Regions from separate parts of the Homo sapiens genome. Here region 1 is linked to region 2. Evidence: promoter capture Hi-C in 16 types of primary human blood cells and fetal thymus (Javierre and others, 2016). All regions are on one chromosome and are shown on one strand. The core of a region is centred on a gene start or on the middle of the fragment in contact, and the rest is flanking DNA. Distances in the headings are between cores, read along the strand shown.

Evidence for each region. The method cuts DNA at HindIII sites, captures the fragments that hold promoters and counts their contacts. A CHiCAGO score of 5 or more calls a contact.
Region 1: a contact is called between a fragment that was not itself captured here and the fragment with the promoter of FOXF1 in region 2, in 1 of 17 cell types (endothelial precursors). The highest score is 5.6, in endothelial precursors.

The regions. Positions count from the first base shown.
Region 1 is chr16:86,387,389-86,392,683 of GRCh38, forward strand. No RefSeq gene overlaps it. Among named protein-coding and RNA genes, the nearest start is that of LINC00917, 44 kb to the left of the region's middle. The HindIII fragment of the contact is 774 bases long and covers 2,908-3,681 here.
Region 2 is chr16:86,508,686-86,514,022 of GRCh38, forward strand. FOXF1 (forkhead box F1) reads left to right here and starts at 1,842. Exons shown (of 2, transcript NM_001451.3): 1 at 1,842-2,863; 2 at 4,240-5,337. The coding sequence starts at 1,885. The coding sequence ends at 4,400. FENDRR (FOXF1 adjacent non-coding developmental regulatory RNA) reads right to left here and starts at 175. Exons shown (of 4, transcript NR_033925.1): 1 at 1-175. RefSeq lists an enhancer at 3,335-4,101. The HindIII fragment of the contact is 3,241 bases long and covers 541-3,781 here.

The DNA of each region.
Region 1 (5,295 bases), core at 2,045-4,544, 120 kb before region 2:
GTTATTAATAAAAATATTAACATATTTTTAATTAAATAATAACACAGACACATAGAAATCACTTCCTGGCTTAACACATACTTGGCTGAATTCCTTGGTCCACGTATCACCCTGAATCTGAAACATCCTTTCTGCACCAGCCATTGACCCAGGAACTGAAACAGAGCATTGAACCTCACTAACAAGTGTGTGCTTACAATTTCTTCACCCAAAAAGTATTTCCACTTATCAAGAGATGGCATTTCCTCCAGGGACGTAAGCATCCTGTGTGAGGCGAGAGTGACTCAGAGGGAGGGCCTGGAGAACAGCTCCCAGCAGCCCACACATGGTGACTGCGTGAGCGGCCTGTGGCCACCACAATAGTTACCACAAATTGGGTGGCAAAAGACAAGAGAAATGTATTCCCCCCAGTTCTGGGGGCCAGAAGTCTGAAGTCAAGTCATCCGCAGAGCCCTGCTCCCTCTGAAGCCTCCAGCGGGGATCCTTCCTGCCTCTTCCAACTCCTGGTGGCCCCAGGCATTCCCTGGCTTGTGGATGCATCACTCCCATCTCTGCTTCCGTTTTCATGTGGCCTCTCCTCTATGTGTGTCTGTGTCTTCTCTTCTGCTTCTTATGAGGACACCTGTCATCGGCTTTACAACCCACCGTAAGTTCAAGACGATCTCATCTCAAGATCCTTATCTTAATTATGTCTATGAAGATTCTATTTCCAAATAAGTTCATATTCGTGCGGTCTGGAAGATTAGAATGTGGACACATCTTTTTCAGGGACACAATTCACCCCACTGCAGTGACCACAGCCGGATCAGACTCGTTCACCCACTTCAGTGACCACAGATGGATCAGACTCGTTCGCTCCCTGCAGTGACCACGGCCGGATCAGACTTGTTCCCTACAAAGGGGATTTCTCATGAGAGCCAGTCACACGAGGGCAGAGACTTTGGTTATCCTCGCCCTGGTAGCTTCAGCATCTGCGCTGCATGTGGTAGGAGGCTTGATCACTTCTGAACAAACACACCAATGAGTAAATGAACGAGCGGCCTCACAGAGCAGCGATGGGGACTTTCTGATGAAGACCAGGTTTTCAGACGGCGGGAGGCCTTGGCTTTGAGGTGTCAGTGGGTGCAATGGTTAATATGGCACTGATTTTAGCGAGTGCCGACTGCGCAATGCCATATCTTTTAAAGGGCACTATAGAATCCCAGAGTTATTGAGTAGGAAGGAAGCCTGGACACTCCTCAGTCCAACTTCCTCACCTGCAAGGTGACAAAACTGAAGCCAGAGAGGAGGAAGGATTCACCCAGGTCCCCCAGAGTCAGCAGCTAAGGAGAGTATAGAAACCAGGCTTCTGACTTCCCAGCCAGTGCTCCACTGAGACCCAGCTCCCCTCCCTCTATCATCATCTCCATCATCCTAATCTCAGCCACGACTCCCATGACCTTGGACTCTTCCTGCTTGGCTCTATGTTCAGCATCTCACATACATCAACTCATTTAATTCTCTCAACAACCCAGTGCTTTACATAGAATCCTTATCTCCATTCTACAGGTGGCACAACTGAGGCTCTCAGATAATTTCCCAAAGGTCTGACAGCTAGAAAATCATGTAATCTGATGCTTAAGCCAGTGCTCCAAGCCAGAGGTGAGCAAACCATAGTCTGTAGGACAAATCTGGCCCATCACCTGTGACCACAGCCAGATTCTGCCACAAAAACAGGAGAATTCTCCGAGAACACATCCAGTTTAATTACAGCACAGTCACACTCGTTATTCAAAGCATCATCTCCGGCTTTCTTCCCTGCTGCAATGGCAAAGCTGAGTAATTGAGAGAGACAGTAGGAACTGAACAGCCTGAAATACTTGTCATCTGGCCCTTCATGTAAATGTCTCCTGAACTCTGCTCTATGCTGCCGATACTATATTATCTATTCTATTCAGTGTATATGTTATCATTTATATCAAACGTTTAAGGGCTTTGTATCTATAATTTGAGAAATGTTTACATTTGATTCTCAAATGAAACCCACCAACAATTAATTTACAAGGAAACAGGTACTTCTTGAACATGATGGCCTTCCCCACTGTGTTTCTATTTTCACAGGGATGTTTTCAGACTCGATGATCCCAAAAGTGATCCCATTAGAAGAAGAAGGAAAAAAAAATAAAAAAGAAAGAAACAACCTCCGCCCCTGCAACCTCTTAAACGGCCCACAACATCTGAATCGGAAGGTCCGTTCATGCTGATTTTCTACGTGTCAGGAATTTCATGCCAAAAAGCGACTCTTCTACATTAATAACGCATCTCCCCATCCAAGACAGGAAATAACATTACAAAAGCCGGAAAGGACATCAAACGCGCTGGCTTGGCAGCCACATGTATATGTGAAATTACTGTCAGAGTTCAAAGGCAGGGCTGAGACATGGAGGGTGCGTGCGGCAGTGTTACCCCATGATGCTTTTACCTCGTGGGAATAAGCACAGTGGCAGGTTACTGTGACCTGGCCACTGGCTTCCTGATACCCACATTGATTCTGGCACGTGGGACTGCAGGGCTGGATTTGGGTGGGCTTTGCAGCTCCCCATACATCCTACCCCAGCTCAAGAGCCTCACACGTAAAGCAACCTTTCCAGGTTTGGGCAGCCCGGACCAGTGCCTGCACCCAGGGCTGGCCAATGCTGCAGAGCTGGCTCTTACTGAGCACTGCACTAATTATTAAAGCATTGCCTCAGGACTCTTGCACAACCTTGAGAAGTAGGAGCTATCATGCCCCCTAATTCATGGATGGGGAATTGAAGATGAATTGAGGTTACTTGATGTGCCCATTGCATGGAGGAAGTGGAGGAACCAAGGTTCAAGCCCAAAGATTCCATCACTCACAACTACCAGGCTTCACTGCTTCAATGTGGAAGCTTCCTTGGGAGATGCAGCCAACCACGCCCAGGCAAGGTTGGACCTGAAGGTGTGAAGAGCTCACCTTTCTGGTTAAGGCAAGTCACTGAGCCCCATTTGGAGATGGAGTTTGCATCAATCTTCATGGCAAGAGGGATCATGACATGAATGAGAGGGCAGCAATTTGACCAAAGGCTCTTCTAGCTAGACAGGTAACTTGGTTTATCCTCCTGACTCATTAAACTGCCTGGTGAACTCCTATGCATTCTTCAAAACCCAGTTTAAACATTCCTTTCACCATGAAGATTTCCTTGCCCCATAAAAAGTCAATCAACTCTTTCTTTGGGCCCCTGAAGTGTATGTGTTGTGAGTGCTTCTGTCTTGACACAGACTGCTTTGCCTTGAATGTGTGCAGCTCGCTGTCTGTATAGTACATTCATCAAGGACAGGAATTGTGTTCAATGTGCCTGTGGACACCAGCTTGGATTAACAGGAACAACGCTAGTAACACCCAGCGCTAGTTAATCACGTACTCTGTGCTGCGCACTCCTCTAACGGGGTCATGGGCTCTAATCCTTAAAACACCGTAGGAGGCTGCTGTGATTATTATTCCCAATGGCGAGGCGTGTAGGCTCTGAAGCCAGGCCACCTGGGTTTGAACCCTGGCTCTGCCTGTGACCTTGAGTGAGTTACTCAGCCTCTCTGTGTCTCGGGATTCTCAGTGACATAGGGATCATCACAGCAGTCACCCAGTGAGGGCTGGAGCCAACTCCGGCAAGAGCTAACTATTAAAGCTTAAAGAATTTTGCCATCGTTAAACATTACATTATGCACACTTAGAGTGGAGTAAACTATATTTAAAACAAACGTAATAAACACTCAAAAGTCATCACTTCCTAATTATTTCCCCACATTTTACTTTCCTCCCTGCCCTTAAGGATACTCACGTTTCCACTTTGGTGGAAATACGGAATAACGATGAGCTTGCACACTGCTTCCCAACTTTATGTTCAATGGCCTCACACTGGTTGAAATGAGACGTAAGGAGGGGATTTACACCATGGAGACTGGCAAACGCTATAACTCAGGGTTTTTTTAACCTTGGAAAACCACTTGTTAAGCATTCCCCAGCACAGCGATGTAACCACCTTATAGCAAGCACACAGTAAGCTGTCAATATGCATTAGCTACTATTGCTATTACTACGAAGAAGACAGAGCTTAAATCACTCACCCAGGTTATGAAAGATCCAGGTATGACCCCAGACATGACAGCTCCCTATCCCTTAACCAGCTTGAACTCAAGGCAGACCACAGAGGAGTGGCCAAGAAATGTATTTGGTTGAATAAACAAACATTGAATTAGTAGATCTCAAATCTGCTGGCCGCAGAAGTGCCTGGGGAGCTTTGTATGGACACAGATTCCCACAGTATCCCTTGTGGTAGGCTCCAGAGTGTGCATTAGAGCGAGTGCGTCGGGTTCTGATTCTGTCCCTCCCCATAGCCCAGCCCCATCCCTGTCTTGCTTGTTGCCCGCTTGTGACCCATCTTCCACATCTGCCTTCCTGCATCCCTACGGGGGTGAGTGGGAACTGTGAGGTGGAGAACCGCATAGGGCAGGGGCCCCTCTGTGCACAGGCCTTAACCAAGAGAGGGCTTGAAGACTGAACACCGTTGCAGGCAAATTAGAAGAAAACCTGCCTCCTCCAGCAGACACTGACCGTGGTGTATAGGCAGCCAAGAGAGGCCGCAGCTTACCTGGGCTCAGAGGCCTGCATATATCTGAGTCCACGGTAACAAAAAACAGGCTGTGAGCGTGCACTGCACTTGCAAATTCACAAAATGCTGCCACATTCCTTCTCCTTTCATCTCACGATAACCCCATGAGATCAGCAATGGATGCATAAAAATAATCCCCCGTTTACAGATGAGGAAACATGTGACTCATATAGCTCAGAGCTGCTCATGCCTGGAGCCTCAGGCTTCAAAGCTGTGTTTTTCCTTCAAAAGTGGGTGTGAGGGAGAGAAGTGGAGAAGATGGGGGCCGGAGTCCCGGAAAGTCAACGTTTATGCATTATGTTGGCTTTGCTACCCACTAGCTGTGTGACCCTGGAAAAGCTTCTTAATTTCTCTGTGCCTTAAGTTTGCACCTTTGAAAAACCTAAGAAAATGATTGGCAGCCTCCTCTTATGGTTGTGGTGAATTAATAGATGTAAAAATGCCTCTTAGAATGTTGCACTGGGTGGGGTTCAATAATGGAATAGACAGGAACCACAGCAACAGCTATAATGATATTGTTGCCTTTATATATCTTGTGGCATTTCCGGGCTATTATTTTTAAAAGGCAGGCTATTGAGCTATCTGGGATAGATCAAGTGACGGATACGTAGATGGGAAGTCAAGGAGC
Region 2 (5,337 bases), core at 592-3,091:
CTCCTGCGCTGTCCTGCGCTCCGCTCTCGGCACCACCTTTCGTGGCTCCACCGCCCCCAGCCCGCACCCGAGCGCTGAGGTGGCAAGGGCAGGTCTGCGTGCGAGCCCCCTGCGGGCTGGCAGCCAGGTGCGCGAGGGCCGCCCTTGCCGGCGCTCCCAGCCCGCGCTGTCTGCTCTCAGGAACCTGGCCTGGCGCGCAGTGTCAGAGGCCCCGCGGCGGCGGCAGGCCGAGCCCACAGGGGCATTAGGCCAACTCCCCCCTCCCGCCCTGCGCACGCGGAATTCTCTATTATTATTATTAAAGAATCCCCCAGAACTTGTTTACGTTAAACCCTGTAAACTTCCTGCCAGGGCCTTTGCCATCTCTCGGGAAATCGGAACCTGCGCTTTGAAAACGGGGCCGCGGGGCCAAATAGGCGGGTTTTCAGTGTGTGTTGGGGGTGGGGGAGGGCAACTGAACTACGTGTGAGTTCAGATCCGAGCGTGGCGTGTGTACGCGTGAGTGGGAGTGAGTGCGAACTTAAGCTCCTGTGGGCCTTAAGCTTCCGTGTCAACGAGTGCATTAGTGGGTGCGCACATGCCTGAGCGCCCTCTGCATATGAGTGTGCACACACGCATGGGTGTGTTTACACGTCTGTTTGCGTAATTTACCGGGTTTGCATGTGCATCAAGACATGTATGTGTGTGCTAATGTGTGGACAAGAGCGCGAGGGTGTGCGCGCACGGGTGAGTGACTGAGCACGCCGCTTATTCAGGGGCCTGTGCGGTCTGGGTCGCCTCTGGGCCAGCGGGTTCTCACTCGCCCCCGTCAGGCCCGCGGCGCCCGAGACAAAGCGGCCGCGACTCGTGCTGCGCTTTCGTTTTCCGCCTGCGCTCTGCCCCGGCGGCTGCCCGCCCGCTCGCAAGCTGCTGGGCGAGTCCGAAAAATCCCGGGAGCGGCGCAGTTCTTCCCGGGGCGGGGAGAGTGGGTAGGCGGTCCCTCGCGGGAACTTAGCCGGCCGGCCGCGAGGACCGGAGTCGAGCCGGCTGTGCCTGCGATGGTCACGACCGGGAGGCCGCCGCACTTGCGATTTGCTACAGGGCTGTGCGCGTCGGGGAAGGCCCCGGCCCAGGGAGCGTTTCCCGCCGCGCCGCCCGGGCGGGGAAGGCGGGGTCCAGCGCGCACCGGGGCTGAACCGCGGGCGGAGGGCGCATTAACACTTGCTCGCCAGGTTGGTGGAGGCGGGGCGGATTCTGCTGGCGGCCGCGGGGCGGCGAGAGTGGGGGCTCTTTAAGCGCCCACCAACGCGGGGGCCCGAGGGGGGCAGGGACGGAGGGAGGGAACTCCGGGAGGGTCTTAGGCCGACCCGCGAGACGCAGCCGAGCGGAGATGGAGTGAAGGCTGCCTCGCCCGGAATCTCGGAGCCGAGCGCCGCGGGCGGCGGGGACTCAGGGCTGCTCCCGGCTGGGGCGCACGGCCGTAAGACCTGGAGGTGGTGCCTCCCCCCAAAAAATACCGGCGGGGGTAGCTTCCTCACGGCCTTCGCCCGGGCTGCCCTCGGCCTCAGCTCGGCTCCTTTCCTTGTGGGAGGGCGAGAAAGAAAGAGGGAGGAGAGAGGTGGGGGAGGCGGGAGTTGGAGAGAGAGGGGCTCTGAGCCAACCGCCGGCGGATCCAGCAGCTCCTCGGGGAGGGCGGGCGGGAGCGCGGGGGCGGGCGCGCCGCGGCTCGCTCGGGAGAAGTGGCCGCCGATGACGGCAGAGGTGCAGCCAGCCCCGCGCGCGCAGCCCCCTCCCCTTCGCCCTCCTCCCCCCCGTCGTCCTCTTCCTCCTCCTCCTCCTCCTCCTCCCGGCCCGTCCGCGGCGCAGAGCAGCGGCGGCAGCGGCGGCGGCGGCAGCAGCCACCCGATGTCTTCGGCGCCCGAGAAGCAGCAGCCACCGCACGGCGGCGGCGGCGGCGGCGGCGGGGGAGGCGGCGCGGCCATGGACCCCGCGTCGTCCGGCCCGTCCAAGGCCAAGAAGACCAACGCCGGCATCCGGCGCCCGGAGAAGCCGCCCTATTCCTACATCGCGCTCATCGTCATGGCCATCCAGAGTTCACCCACCAAGCGCCTGACGCTGAGCGAGATCTACCAGTTCCTGCAGAGCCGCTTCCCCTTCTTCCGGGGCTCCTACCAGGGCTGGAAGAACTCCGTGCGCCACAACCTCTCGCTCAACGAGTGCTTCATCAAGCTACCCAAGGGCCTTGGGCGGCCCGGCAAGGGCCACTACTGGACCATCGACCCGGCCAGCGAGTTCATGTTCGAGGAGGGCTCCTTTCGGCGGCGGCCGCGCGGCTTCCGAAGGAAATGCCAGGCGCTCAAGCCCATGTACAGCATGATGAACGGGCTCGGCTTCAACCACCTCCCGGACACCTACGGCTTCCAGGGCTCGGCCGGCGGCCTCTCGTGCCCGCCCAACAGCCTGGCGCTGGAGGGCGGCCTGGGCATGATGAACGGCCACTTGCCGGGCAACGTGGACGGCATGGCCCTGCCCAGCCACTCGGTGCCCCACCTGCCTTCCAACGGCGGCCACTCGTACATGGGCGGCTGCGGCGGCGCGGCGGCCGGCGAGTACCCGCACCACGACAGCTCGGTGCCCGCCTCCCCGCTGCTGCCCACCGGCGCCGGTGGGGTCATGGAGCCGCACGCCGTCTACTCGGGCTCGGCGGCGGCCTGGCCGCCCTCGGCGTCCGCGGCGCTCAACAGCGGCGCCTCTTATATCAAGCAGCAGCCCCTGTCCCCCTGTAACCCCGCGGCCAACCCCCTGTCCGGCAGCCTCTCCACGCACTCCCTGGAGCAGCCGTATCTGCACCAGAACAGCCACAACGCCCCAGCCGAGCTGCAAGGTGAGTGGGGAGGCCGAGGGCGCCCTGGTCCCCGGGAAGTCGAGTCTGAGTGGCAGCGGGACCCAGCTGGGGCGAGCCCCTCCACTTCTGTGGTCGGAACCCCAAGGCTGAGGGGAGGCACCAGCTCCCCAAGGTGTCTCTTGGCCCCACCTCTCCCCCTTCGAAGAGTGACTACCGCTCTTGACCCTAGTTTGGGCCAATCTGTTTCTCTTTCTGTTCGAACTCCAGCTGCCAGCTGCTCCAGGCCTGACCAGGTAGGCTGGTCCTGAGCCAGATGTCCCAGACCCCAGTGCCCTAAGTCCTTTTGTGTCCCTTAAGTCCCCTCACAGCTTGGAAAGATCCTGGGATGGACCCAAGGCTCCCAGCGCTGGCCAGATGGCTGTCCCTCCCTGGTGGTGGCCCTCAGGCTGCCTGGAGGGCTGCCTCTGCCTGGGGCTGGGCGGAACGGAAGGTGTTAGGCCCAAAGCCGCTGGGCCAGCGCTCAGAGGCTCAGCCCCGGCCTTTCAGGGGACCAGACCTGGCAGACCCACAGCTGAGTCCAGGGGCATTTTGTGGTGACTGAGGCAGGAGGGTGCCGTGGCCAGGCCCCGGAGGGTCAGAGCTGCAGACCGGGCCATGGGGGCTCCTTGTTTTTTAGGATCCAAGTTTTCAGGTCCCCACACCCCCAACACCCCTGATACCCCAATACCCCGAACATGCAGAAGCATCTGCCAAGGGAGATGCAGCAGCCTCGCCTCCTGATTCTGCCCCAGGCCCCCCGCAGCCTGCAGGCCCAGCTCTGGAAAAAGCTGGAGTGAGCTTGCCAGGGCCAGTCCAGGGTCAGCTGTCAGCAGCCCCAGGAGGCAGGAGCCAGGCCTGGAGGCCTTAGGCAGCCTCTCTGCGGGGGACTCCCCGGCTCCGGGGCCTGTTCTCTGGAGAAGCTTCTTCTCACCCCTGCTGCTGGCCCGGCGCTGGCCCTGCACTGGCCTCTCCTTCAACCCCGCCGGCAGTCGTAGCCTCTGAGGTTGGGGGTGGTGGTGGCTGCCCTGGCGGTGACGGCCATGGGCGTTAGGGGCCCTCCACTTGGTCTCCCTCACCACTTCCCCTATGGCTCTGGAAGCCCTGGGCCCCTGCACGGTGTCCGAGGCTGGACAGGCACGCAGCAGGCAGGCAGGCAGGCAGGCAGGCAGGCCGTGGCAAGTGTTCTGGAGTCTTTTCCTTGGGTGCGCAGCTGGAAGGCCGGGACTCGGGGAGGAGAGCGGGGAGGCGGCCGTGCTCTGGAGCCAGGCTGACAGGCCCTGTGCGCCCCACGGGAGCACTGCTCCTCTGCCTGAACTCTGAGCCACCGTGGCTAACTCTTCTGCTCCCCCAACCCCTCCTGTCGCCTCGCCTTGCAGGCATCCCGCGGTATCACTCGCAGTCGCCCAGCATGTGTGACCGAAAGGAGTTTGTCTTCTCTTTCAACGCCATGGCGTCCTCTTCCATGCACTCGGCCGGCGGGGGCTCCTACTACCACCAGCAGGTCACCTACCAAGACATCAAGCCTTGCGTGATGTGAGGCTGCCGCCGCAGGCCCTCCTGGTGCAGGCAGGCGGGTCACAGGGACCCTGGACCGGCACAAGAAACTGCTTTCTTCTCGAGGTATAACCGTCGGCAGAAGAAAAGGGTTCCACCTCTCCCCAACCGGAGTTTTTGGCAAGGAGTCCCCAATGCAAAGACACAGCGCTGCGGTTGGCACCTCCTTCCTCACTCCTTCAAAATTGTTAAGAAATGTTAGTGGTGGGTCTGATCTGACTGCAGCCATCGGTAAATAAAAGTTTTTGATCCTGTTGAACCCGCCTGAGACGGTGCTGTGCAGGGGAAAGCCCCCGCACCCACACAGGAATTCTGCTGAGGTCCCCCCTCCTTCCGGCCAATGGCAGAAGTGGGGGAAAATTTTTAGAAGAAAAGCAAACATGTGAGACCAATCATTATCAAATACTTTTATTTTTTGGTTGAGTATTTATCTTTTTATTTTTTATTTTTTTTTTGAAAGAATGTCTTGGAATGCGCAAGTCTCCCTTTAGAGCCGTCTTTTGCAGGGAGCGGGAAGTGACAAGAGCTCAGATCTCCCTCCCGATCTCCCTCCCCACCTCCGAAGTCTCCTCCGTGGACCACAGGTGGATCTTTGTGCGAACAACTTGCATTTCGGAAGCCACTGTCCGTCTTTAAACAGAAAGTCAAAGGAGCCACGAAGCAAGCGGCCGTCCGGGCGTCCGCCTCCGTCCCCTTCCATGTTCCTCCTCTTCCTTCGCTTCAGCCTCTTCTGTTATGTTTTGTCTTGAATTTTATTTAGACTTTTTCAGTGGGTATTTTTCTGTCTCCCAACCTCTACTGTAAACTTTCTGGTCCGAGAACGAGCCGAACACAGCGCGACGCAGGGACTAGGACGGCCCGGTGACCGCGCGGATTCAGGATTGCGGGGACGCAGAAAGGTTAAGGCACTTTTAAAAACT